2 separate regions of the Homo sapiens genome follow, and region 1 is linked to region 2. The links are contacts of gene promoters, found by promoter capture Hi-C in blood cells and fetal thymus (Javierre and others, 2016). All regions are on one chromosome and are shown on one strand. Each heading gives the region's core, a stretch centred on a gene start or on the middle of the fragment in contact. The rest is flanking DNA. Distances are from core to core; before and after follow the strand shown.

Evidence for each region. Contacts are between HindIII fragments. The CHiCAGO score rates a contact against its expected background, and 5 or more counts as called.
Region 1: a contact is called between a fragment that was not itself captured here and the fragment with the promoter of FIP1L1 in region 2, in 1 of 17 cell types (activated CD4 T cells). The highest score is 5.4, in activated CD4 T cells.

What each region holds. Positions count from the first base shown.
Region 1 is chr4:53,196,839-53,202,240 of GRCh38, reverse strand. The region is part of intron 4 of SCFD2 (sec1 family domain containing 2); the gene reads left to right. Among named protein-coding and RNA genes, the nearest start is that of SCFD2, 170 kb to the left of the region's middle. RefSeq lists an enhancer at 3,128-5,402. The HindIII fragment of the contact is 8,880 bases long and covers 1-5,402 here.
Region 2 is chr4:53,374,287-53,380,412 of GRCh38, reverse strand. FIP1L1 (factor interacting with PAPOLA and CPSF1) reads right to left here and starts at 2,772. Exons shown (of 18, transcript NM_030917.4): 1 at 2,490-2,772; 2 at 1,296-1,340; 3 at 1,149-1,188. The coding sequence starts at 2,574. LOC105377654 (a long non-coding RNA gene) reads left to right here and starts at 2,673. Exons shown (of 3, transcript XR_007058118.1): 1 at 2,673-2,754; 2 at 4,683-4,816; 3 at 5,816-6,126. RefSeq lists a silencer at 2,195-2,284 and enhancers at 1,957-2,505, 2,445-2,564, 2,615-2,704, 2,506-3,054. The HindIII fragment of the contact is 4,469 bases long and covers 1,439-5,907 here.

The DNA.
Region 1 (5,402 bases), core at 950-3,449, 180 kb after region 2:
TGTAGAGAGCTGAAACTGGATCCCTTCCTTACACCTTATACAAAAATTAATTCAAGATGGATTAAAGACTTACATGTTAGACCTAAAACCATAAAAACCCTAGAAGAAAACCTAGGCAATACCATTCAGGACATAGGCATGGGCAAGGACTTCATGTCTAAAACACCAAAAGCAATGGCAACAGAAGCCAAAATTGAGAAATGGGATCTAATTAAACTAAAGAGCTTCTGCACAGCAGAAGAAACTACCATCAGAGTGAACAGGCAACCTTCAGAATGGGAGAAAATTTTTGCAACCTACTCATCTGACAAAGGGCTAATATCCAGAATCTACAATGAACTCAAACAAATTTACAAGAAAAAATCAAACAACCCCATCAAAAAGTGGGCCAAGGATATGAACAGACACTTCTCAGAAGAAGACATTTATGTAGCCAAAAAACACATGAAAAAATGCTCATCATCACTGGCCATCAGAGAAATGCAAATCAAAACCACAATGAGATACCATCTCCCACCAGTTAGAATGGCAATCATCAAAAAGTCAGGAAACAACAGGTGCTGGAGAGGATGTGGAGAAATAGGAACACTTTTACACTGTTGGTGGGACTGTAAACTAGTTCAACCATTGTGGAAGTCAGTGTGGCGATTCCTCAGGGATCTAGAACTAGAAATACCATTTGACCCAGCCATCCCATTACTGGGTATTTACCCAAAGGATTATAAATCATGCTGCTATAAAGACACATGCACATGTATGTTTATTGAGGCACTGTTCACAATAGCAAAGACTTGAAACCATCCCAAATGTCCAACAATGATAGACTGGATTAAGAAAATGTGGCACATATACACCATGGAATACTATGGAGCCATAAAAAAGGATGAGTTCATGTCCTTTGTAGGGACATGGATGAAGCTGGAAACCACCATTCTCAGCAAACTATGGCAAGGAGAAAAAACCAAACACCTCATGTTCTCACTCATAGGTGGGAATTGAACAATGAGAACACGTGGACACAGGAAGGGGAACATCACACACTGGGGCCTGTTGTGGGGTGGGGGGAGGAGGGAGGGATAGCATTAGGAGCTATACCTAATGCTAAATGACGAATTAATGGGTGCAGCACACCAACATGGCACATGTATACATATGTAAGAAACCTGCACGCTATGTACGTGTGCCCTAAAACTTAAAGTATAATAATAATAAAATTTTTTAAAAAATTAAATTAAATTAAAATAAAATTAATATTTGTATTATAAATCATATCAACCTTATTCTCCATGAAATACTTGAACTTTGCTGAACTTTTAAACTTTTGATTTTTAGAATGGATTTATACATTTCTGATGAATTAGTGAAAAATTTAATGTGCATAGAGATGAATGACTGAACTGAATCCATTGAATGCATGTGTATATGTGTCATGAGGTTGAGTCTTCTAGAAGCTACACAGGTCACAATGTAGGCTAAATTCATGCCATTAAGACAGAATGTACTTTAGTCTACATTTATCCTTCAGCAATAAATAGTCAGGATTTAATTTGAACACATTTTTTTTCTAAACCAGATAGTCTACCTCATAGAGGAAAAGTTTTTTCAGTTACGAGACAAGCGCTTGTCCTATCTTCTGACTTTTCAAACAGGAAGCCCAGTGTTCTTTCCAGAAACAGATTATTGCTTTTACCTTAAGTAGAGGAAAAACTCTGTAATTAGTTGTAGAGACAGTGCTTATATTTTCCTTTCAAATCTGATTGTATCAGGATACTATGGCAATTTTTTTCATTTGAAATCTACTTTAATAGTTCAAAGTTTTTGGAGATTCACTTTCATAGTGCTACTTATATTCTACAGTGGGTTTAGTTGGTGGTGGTGGTGGTGAGTTTGGAGGTAGAGGGATGGGAAAAAGAATAGGAGAGGCTGTTGTTTAAGACAAACTTCTATTGCAATGACTCTGTTTCTTATATCCTGGTTTAAAGGATCAGGTGCAGAATAATCACTCACTCCTAGGAAGAAGGATTATTACATGAGTGCAAGCTGTATATCTGATTTTGGCCAATGACCTCAGTGCTATAGACTGAATTGTGTTCTGCCAAAACCCGTATGCTGAAGTCCTAACCTCCAATGTGATTGTGATAGTAATTAGAGATGAGGCCTTTGGGACATAATTAGATTTACATGAGGTCATGAGGGTGGGACCTTCTGATAGGATTAATGCCTTTATTAAAAGAGACACAAGAGAACTTGCATTCTCTCTCTCTCTCCCTCTCTTGCTCTCACTCTCACTCTCTCTTGCTCTTCTTCCCGCCTCCCTCCTTCTCTCTGCCATGTGAATACACATGAAAAAAGCCATCTGCAAGCAGGAAGAGAGCCCTTACCAGAACCTGGTCATACTGACACCCTGATGTCAAACTTCCAGCTTCTAAAACTGAGAAAATAGATTTCTCTTGTTTAAGCTACCCAGTGCTACTTATTTTGTACGGGGACAGGTAGCTTCCATGCCCTTTCTGGTCATTCCACCTTTCCAGCATGTTGTTGATGTGTTCGCCAGCTGGGAAGTTCATCAAGTCTTGCTGCTAAGGAGTTTTTGTAGAGCTCAATCTGAAGTCCCACCCCCTTCAACCCTCTAATTACTTGATCTTTCTGATGACCAGCCCCATCCTGAGGCTATCTAGGGATCCTACCCTAAGTTACCTTATTAACATAAAGTCAGCTAGTTATGAATCAAAAAGAGCTAGTTATGAATAAACAATGATACTCTTATCACTCAGGAAATTCTAAAGGTTTTTGGTGCTCTTTGCCAGGAACCAGAAACAAAAACCAAATGTATTTCTTCTTATACTACACAACCCAAAGTTCATACTCTGTTGTTTGTAATCATCTCCCCTCTCATTCGATCAGATAGATAAAGAAGGGAGAGAAGCAAGAAAATAAGCAAGCATTTTATGTAGTATGTCAGGGTGCTTTCTGACTACAGATGATGGAGAAATGAAATAATAAGGAAAAATGTTATTATTAGAAGGAAATGCTGCCTTCTTTTCCATCACAAATGCCATCACTCAGAGATGAAACAAGTGCTTGCCTTTAGAGGGACTGAGTGGTTATATTGGCTTTGCTACAGAAGAACCTTGGCCCCTCAAACTAGTTAAGTTTGGCAGTGATATTTTGGTTGGTGAGAAACTAATTAGAAGATGGGAGCATTTTACATACTCTTCAAATGACCCAGCATTTCAAACAGATGTTTCAGGAAAATGCATACCTGGTGCTCTTCCATTAGTGAATTACTTTGTTGTAACTGTCACAAGCTCTTTTGGACGGTAATTATGAAGAATTATGTCCCATTTGGCAACTCAAATGTATGCTGTTTAGCTCAATTTGAGGGAAATTTGATGGTAATTATAGGCACAGTTTTTCTGTTAAGTCTTGAAAAGGAACCTATCACAACAGTTGAGAAAACCTGGGTGATAAAGCATAGGAGCAGTCCATATTCTCCAAGAAGTATACATATGAGGGTTCTTATAGGATCTTTAAATGAACACATGTATACACACATGCACACACACACACATTCACTCACACAGCATAAAACCAAAACATCCCCAACTCCAAAACAACTTAAACAAAAATGGACAAGTAGAGAGAGTATAATGTATAATAATAAGACTAGAATAAACTATAACTTGAAGTACTGAAACTGAAAATTTATAGCATTTAAACATGATTACAATAATTGCTGGCTTCATATGATATTTCATAGGTTTTAGTATTCTTAGGATCTCTTTTTTTACATTTAAAATATTAGATTATGTGTCTATAAAATAATACTTTTAATATAATTTTTTAGTTGAAATTATTAGATTTAAAAAAATCCTGTTTGAATTTATAACAGCCCGTCCCCTTAAAGCCAGCAGGCAGAAAACAAGCAACTCAATTTGAGTTGAAATTGAAGATGAAGATAAACAACAGTACTTGCCTAAGATGATAGGAGGTTTGATTCTTTTAAAGTCAAATACAGTAATTATTGTTTTGTTTAGTGACCTTAAGGCTTTCAATTATTAAATAAAAGCTGCAATCACTCGTATTTCCAGAATTAAGAGAAATCCATATGGATCACCATTATGCATGGAAAAAAATTGCCATTATATATCTATATGTTTTATCTTGGGACATGGTGAGGACTTTGCATTTTCCTGTCCGCAAACTCCCAGAATTTTGTTAAGTCATTGGAAGCCAAGCATTAAGTACAAATAGTTTCAGTTTCCATATTTCCTAGCAGGCCAGCCAAGAGCCATCCTAGACAGATGGAAAGAAAAGGTTTATTCCTGGAAAATATGAAGACATTCTTATACTTGTAAATATTTTTTTACCCCATATTTTTGAAATTAACATCTCATTAGCATAGGTTACATTGACTTGTGTTTATAAACCAGCTCTGCATTTCATTTTAGAGCAAGATGAAATATTCATTTCTTTTTTTTTTTTTTTTTTTTGCCATCTTCTAATGTCATATTTACAATAAAGAACATCTGGATATTTGCAATTGGAGAAGTCTTCATGCTTTTGAAATATGACATTCAATAAATAGTTCTTTCACTGCTAAACAGCAATCAGCATGTATCAGATTGTTGGACAGACTTTTTCAATAAAAAGCATTTGCTTTTTCTATTGTTTAAGACATCTTAATATTATAGGTAGGTGGTAAGAAAGCAGGTTAGGCTTTGGGGAAAAAATCTGAAATTTTGTAATAATTTCTGTAATTATGCCAACATAGTTAAGTCTTTATGAATAATGGCCCTTTTTCCTCTTTTGGGCTGACCTGGAGTCCTTTTAAGTGTGAGCATGATGTTACAATACTGCCCCCTACTGTAAGACTTTGGATAATCCTTTCAAAGGAACTTCAAGAAAAACCAGAAGAAACTAACAGATGATTGGGGACAAGCATATCTTATTACATTTGGCATTTTGAAAGTATGTTTTGATGAACAGTTCAGGCCTCTTAAATGCAGAACTCTAGAATAATAGTATAATACATACTTTTGTTTCTCAGTTTGTTTTCTTTTGAATTAATGTTGTTGCTGCTCTGTTCCTTTGAGTTAAACAGAGGAAATTTTCCTCCCCCGCCATGCTTTGGGATGATGGATCTTACTCCGGGTTTTGTGAATGTGTTTCTGTTTTAATTAGTGTTGGTTTCAAGGAATTGTGAATCTTTGAAAAAAGCACACAGGGTGTCTTTGAGGCTGGATAAAGAATGATGCTTTTGTCTATCTTCCGTGTGGCTTTGGTATTTTAATAATAATAACCAATTTTGTGGTAAAGTATATCGATTCAACCAATCCTATCTTGCAGTTCATCCAGTCTTAAATCTAGCTGTCTCTAAATAGCTTTGTATTCTTTTGCAT
Region 2 (6,126 bases), core at 1,523-4,022:
TCACCCAACTCTTAGTAACCACTAATCTGTCTCTACGGACTGACATCTTTAGCTTCCACATTTGTAAGGTTCATCCGTGTTGTAACATCTACCAGTACTTCATTTTATTGTCCTTGCCAAATAATATTCCGCTGTATGGATATAACACATTTAATCTATCCATTCATCAGTTGATGCAGCTGCGAGGTTTTCTTTTTCCACTTTCTATTAAGAATAATGCTGCTATGAATATTCACGTACAAGTTTTTGTCTGAATATGTTTTCATTCCTCTAAGGTGGAGGACTCACATGGTAACTCCATGTTTCACCATTTGAGAAAATGGCCAGGCTGTTCTTCAAAGCAGCTGCACCATTTTACAATCCCACCAGAAGTGTATGAGGGTTTTATTTCCCCATATCCTCACTAACACCTGTTTTATCTTTTCGATTGCAGCTTACTCGGTATGAAGTTGTATATCTTCCACTTTTTAAACCCAAATATTCCTTAAAATCTTCTAACTACCTCTCCCTCCATTACAGACACTAATGCATGTGGTCAGGGTAAAGCCGACATCTCCATGTACTTCTTTACATGGCTTGCTTTTTGAAATCTGGGGTAAAATTCTGACTCCCTGTATATGTTCTATAAATGAACACTTACATCTTTCTTACAATCTAACAAAGAAATCAACCTTATAACAAATCAGCTAATTACATTTTGAATGCAAACAATACATAGCATTGAAATTACAACCAAACTGCCATTATATCATCAAAAATGTTAATAAACTGGAAAAGCAGTAGTTTGGAGTGTTCCTGATTTACTTAAAAACATTTTCAATTAAGTTAAAATATTTTTATCAGTAGCTTAACGATTATACTGTATACTTCACTACTGAATTCACTTAAGAGTAACAAGTTACTTAACAGTGTAAAATCAGTCCAATCCTAAGTTCAAAAACTTTGTCCTTTAAACTACCAACAAATAGAATTGGCGTAAGATTAGGTCCTGAAACTGGAATAATCCTTAAAGGATTCAATGTCCTCCAAAATGTTGTAAGTCAGTGTTGTAATGAAGCCAATGATTGTAAGAAAATAATTTTGACAACTGACAGAACCATTGTTTCACACAACCTGTGTAATAGGCATCAACAGAAAATTTCACTAACCTGGCATTTTCTTCTTCTGGCCTTTCAACTTCATTTTCATCTACCAAGTAAAATAAACAAATAAATAAATAAGCAAACAAAATAAAGAAACCACTCTTAAAGAAACTAGTATTATGAAAATCTGAAGTGATCATCACAAGCACTAACCTAGGTCCTTTGCCAAATCACTGTGCACATGCACGTCCCATGGGCCTATAAGCACATCCAAAGTTAGATCACCTTATAATTACTTAACAAGATACTTATTTTATGGAAAAAAAAATCAGACTTTACTGCTATAAAAATAAGCTTAAATTTAAGAGGTAATGAAGATTTCCAGATCTTTGTAAAAGAAATCCTACACATTCACATTTCAAAGAGTAGTAACTAATGCTAAATCTTGCCACCAAACGATTTTTTTTTACAAGTTTATCAAAGTCACATCATCAAGGACCTGCATGGTGCCCAAAGTGCACTTTTACTATTCTATTCTAAAGACAATCAAGAATATATGTTTTAGGCAAGGAACAAACATTAACTTTCAAATCTGGTGTTAACAAGCAAGAAGGGATTGTGACTTAAAGTTAAAAACCAGATGTCAAACAAGTACCCTTCTAGAGAGAAGTACATGATGCATTAAATTTATTTTGAGAAAAACAAATACATGAGATGACACTGAAAACTATAAGCCGAAGGGTCATGAGATACCTCCATGATGTAGGTTAAACGGTAGTCTCTTAAAAAAGAATAACTTCACCTTAATACAGGAGACATTCAGAGTTTTCTTTATGGGCCATCTTTCTCTCTCTCTCTCTTAATTAATTATTTTTAAAGCACGACTTTCAGACAAGGAGGTACCCTTGCAGGTGCATTCCATACAAACTGACCATCAAGAAACAAGACGTTAGTTGTACAGCATTAACTTTATTTAGCTATTATTACAGAATGACTGTTTCTGAAAGAAGGGACAGGAAGGGCACCCTAAGGCCACAGGGCAAAAACAGACACCAAAAACCACCACCTCAGAATCGACAGAAAAAAACAAGGGTAAAGAGCGCAGCAGCTAGGCGATCGAGACGCCTCGGGGAAAGCACAGCGAAGCCGGGGGCCAGGACCGGTCACAGCCCCCCAGCCCGGCCCGGCCGCCACAGGGGTGGATGCGCATGGTGGGCGTGGGCCAGGCGGGAGACCGCCGCGGGGACTGGGGGCACGCGCACGCCGCGCTCGGCCTAAGTCAGGCCGGACAGGACTCCCAACCAGAGGCCCGAAGCGGCGGCGCGAGAGGCCAGGGACGCCGGCCGTTTGAGGGCCAAGAGGGGAGGCCTGAGAGAACCCGAGAGACAGAGACAGGAAGTTTCGTACCGCCATAGAGCCACTCTTCCTCCTCATCCCCTCCGGTCCCGCCGCTCAGCTCCGACACTAGGCGCTCGACCTCGCCGGCCGACATGGCCGCCCCGAGCGCAACTTAAACGCGGCGATCAACAGCCCCCTCCAACCCCTTCCCCAGCCTCGCAGCCCCGAGGCGCGAGAAGGGCGCGAACCCGCCGACGAACGAACGAAGAAAGCTCGAGACTCCAATCCCAGGAAGGCGACGGCAGCGGCGGCAAAGATGAAGCCTCCAGCGCAGGTCCGTCTGCGCATGCGCAGGAGACCCAAGCGGCGCGGCGCGTATAGGTGGCTTCGCTTCCGCGGCGGCCACCTGGGCCTGGTTGCGCCTGCGCGCTGAGGTGGGCCCCGCCCCTCTAGGATCCCGGTTTGCTATTTTGCGTGGCTTCCTCCCGTGGCGTCCTGAGTCGGCCAGGGTTCCCCGCCCCCACCCTTCTTTTTAATAACCCGTATTGCCATTGCTGGCGAGTACACCATTGTTCCCTTCTACTCTTCGTGCTCTTTCTTCTCAACTTTTTATTTGTTTTTTAATCTTCAGAAAGGCCTTCTTTTATTCTTTAATCAGCCTTGATACAGAATCATTACCTGTCACTCCCTTTCCTCACTGAATAGAGAAGAAATCACAATCAGTACTATTTCTCAAAAAATTAATTTTCACAGCCAACAAAAGCAAAACTAATAGATGAAGAATGCACTCTCCTTGTTAAAAACCATAAATTACTGTCAAGGTCAAAGACCGCCTCATTCCCCTACCCTTCTCTCCGGAGGTAGCCCTTGCTACAGATGCATATCCTGTTTGGAGTTCATCATTCCGAAATTTCCTATACACTTACTTCATGTGTTGTGCTGTTTTGGTGGGAGAACCTGAGATTGACAAGTCTTAAATAGTACAGTACAGTATAGTATCATCCTTCGACTTCCTTTTTTTTCTTTTTTTTTAGCATCCGTGTCTTGGAGCTCTTTTTCATTTTAGTATGAATCAAACTATATCTATTTTAAGTGCTTCATAAAATTGCATAGTATGGCTATCACAGAGTGAATATGGCTATTTCTCCATTGATGTACACCCAGATTGCTTTTGACTTTACACTTTTAACTACAACAAAAAATGACAATGAAGATCCACACGGCTCCTTGCAGATTTGTCTGTTTCTCAAAGATAGATCATAAAGTATGTACAGTTTTTATTTTAATAGGTAAACCAAATGTTCAGGCCGCTTCTGAAAGCACATCTTCCAGTGAAAAGATGACATACCATGGTTCAAACTGGAGCTCTAGGTTTGTCTAGGTTTTTTGTTTGTTTGTTTATTTATTTGAGGCGGAGTCTCACTCTGTTGCCCAGCTGGAGTACAGTGGTGCGATCTCTGCTCACTGCAACCTCCACCTCCTGGGCTCAAGCGATTCTTCTGCCTCAGCCTCCCAAGTAGCTGGGATTACAGGCACGCACCACCATGCCCAGCCAATTTTTGTATTTATAGTAGAGAGGGGGTTTCACCATTTTGGCCAGGCTGGTTTTGAACTCCTGACCTCAGGTGATCTGCCCACCTTGGTGTCCCAAAGTGCTGGGCTTACAGGCATGAGCCACCACGCCCGGCCTGTTTTTTTGTTTTGTTTTGTTTTGTTTTGTTTTGTTTTGTTTTGTTTAAAAAACAGTCTTACTCTGTAACCCAGGCTGAAATGCAGTGGCAGGGTCACTGTTCACTGCAGTCTCTACCTCCCAGACTCAAACAGTCCTCCCACTTCAGCCTCCTGAGTACCTGGGACTACAGACAAGCAGGTGCCACCACACCTGGCTAATTTTTTATTTTTTGTAGAGACAATGTCTCACCATGTTGCCTAGGCTGGTCTGGAACTCGTGGTCTCTAGCAATCCTTCCACCTAGGCCTCCTAAAGTGCTGGGATTACATGTATGAGCCACCAGGCCTGGCCTCAGTTCTTCATTATACCTAGCAGGTTGTATAGTCAGGCAATCAACCTTTCTATGCTTCAGTTTTCTCATCTATAAAATGGAAAGGCCAAGTTAGATGATCTCTGAGGTCTCTTTCATTTATAAAGTTTACAAACAGGGCATTCGCTTGTCAACAGAGAGAAATCCATTTTGATTGAACAACTAAATGAGTTTTCTTGCTCCTTGATGAATAAATATTGTTTTATCATTTATTTATTTAGCAATTACAGAATATCTGCTCTGTTTAAGAACTTGGAAAATGAAGACATGAGTGAAACAGTCCCACCCCTTAAAGAACTCTGAAGTTATTGAGAAAGACAGAGGGGCAGTAAACAACTCTCCTACAAGAGAAGAGGTGAATGTGTTGTAATAGAAGCACAAATGAAGGGTTTACGCCCAACCAATATCTCACATTATTTAAACAAACCATGTGGTTTTAATCTTTCTTACCTTTGAACACACTTCTGCCAGCTATTCCCAGCTCCCTTATCTTTTTATGATAATCTCTTGCATCCTTCTAAACTCTCTGGGGGTATAATCACCTTTGTGAAATCTTTCCTGAATCCCATTTTATCTCTTCCCATTTGTTTTGCCAGGAACTCTTCCAGCTATGTAGATTCAACAGTGAATAAAACAAAGTTCTTTCTTTTGTGGAGCTTTGATTCTAATAAGAGAGTCAGATAATAAACATATGAACGTATGATATGTCATGATGACAAGAATTGTGAAAAGAGTAAGCAATATAAAATGAAGTGATGGGGTGCAATTTTATATGGAGTGGTCAGGGAAAGCTACTCTGATGAAGTGATACAAGAGACTTGAATGGAGACAGGAGGTGAGCCCCGTGGATTTCGGGGTGACAGACTATCAAACAGAGGAATAAGAAGTGCAAAGGCCCTGAGGTAGAAGCATACTTGGCATGTTCAAGAAACTCAAAATGTAGCTAAAGTATAGTGAGTGAGAGAGAATGCAGATGAGGTCAGATGTATTTGGGGGGTGAGTGGGACAGAGCAACTCACTCCTTCTAGACACCATGCTGCTTCTATGCCATGTGCCTATCACACTGTATAGTAATTATTTGACTATATTTCTGTTTGCCTCAGGCTCTTCGCTAGACCAAGTCCACCTCCAAACAGGGCATCCCATAGCCATCACTTCAATTCCTAGTATAGTGCTTAACGCTGAGTAAATCTTCTTGGTCACTGTTGAAAGTAATAGAATGAAGTCTTATAGACTGTTTATGAGTATCGTAAGGCAATCACTCACAGTCCTGTCTATTGATCGTTCTATTTATTTAATTGGTTTCATGAGAAAACCAATTGCCTTTTGTTAAGGGATCTTTTTCTGTTTTCAGCTGCCTTTCAAGGCATTGCTTAAACATAACTGAAGAAATGATGAACAATACTAGAATAGCTTTTGTGGTGGAGGTAGCATTTGAGCTAAGCTTTGAAAATGAAGATTTCCACAAGCAAAGAAGCACATAAATCACTAATAACTACTCTGAAAAGACCTCTTCCTCCTTGCTTCTAAGCTGAGTTTCTTGCCTGAATATGCTTTCTTAGTTAAAGGTATCTTTCTCTCCCTGCTCACCAGGGGAGACATCAAAGGTAGGTAGTTTGAAGATATTATATATTCCTCCTTCCATTTCTTATATTATGACCTTAT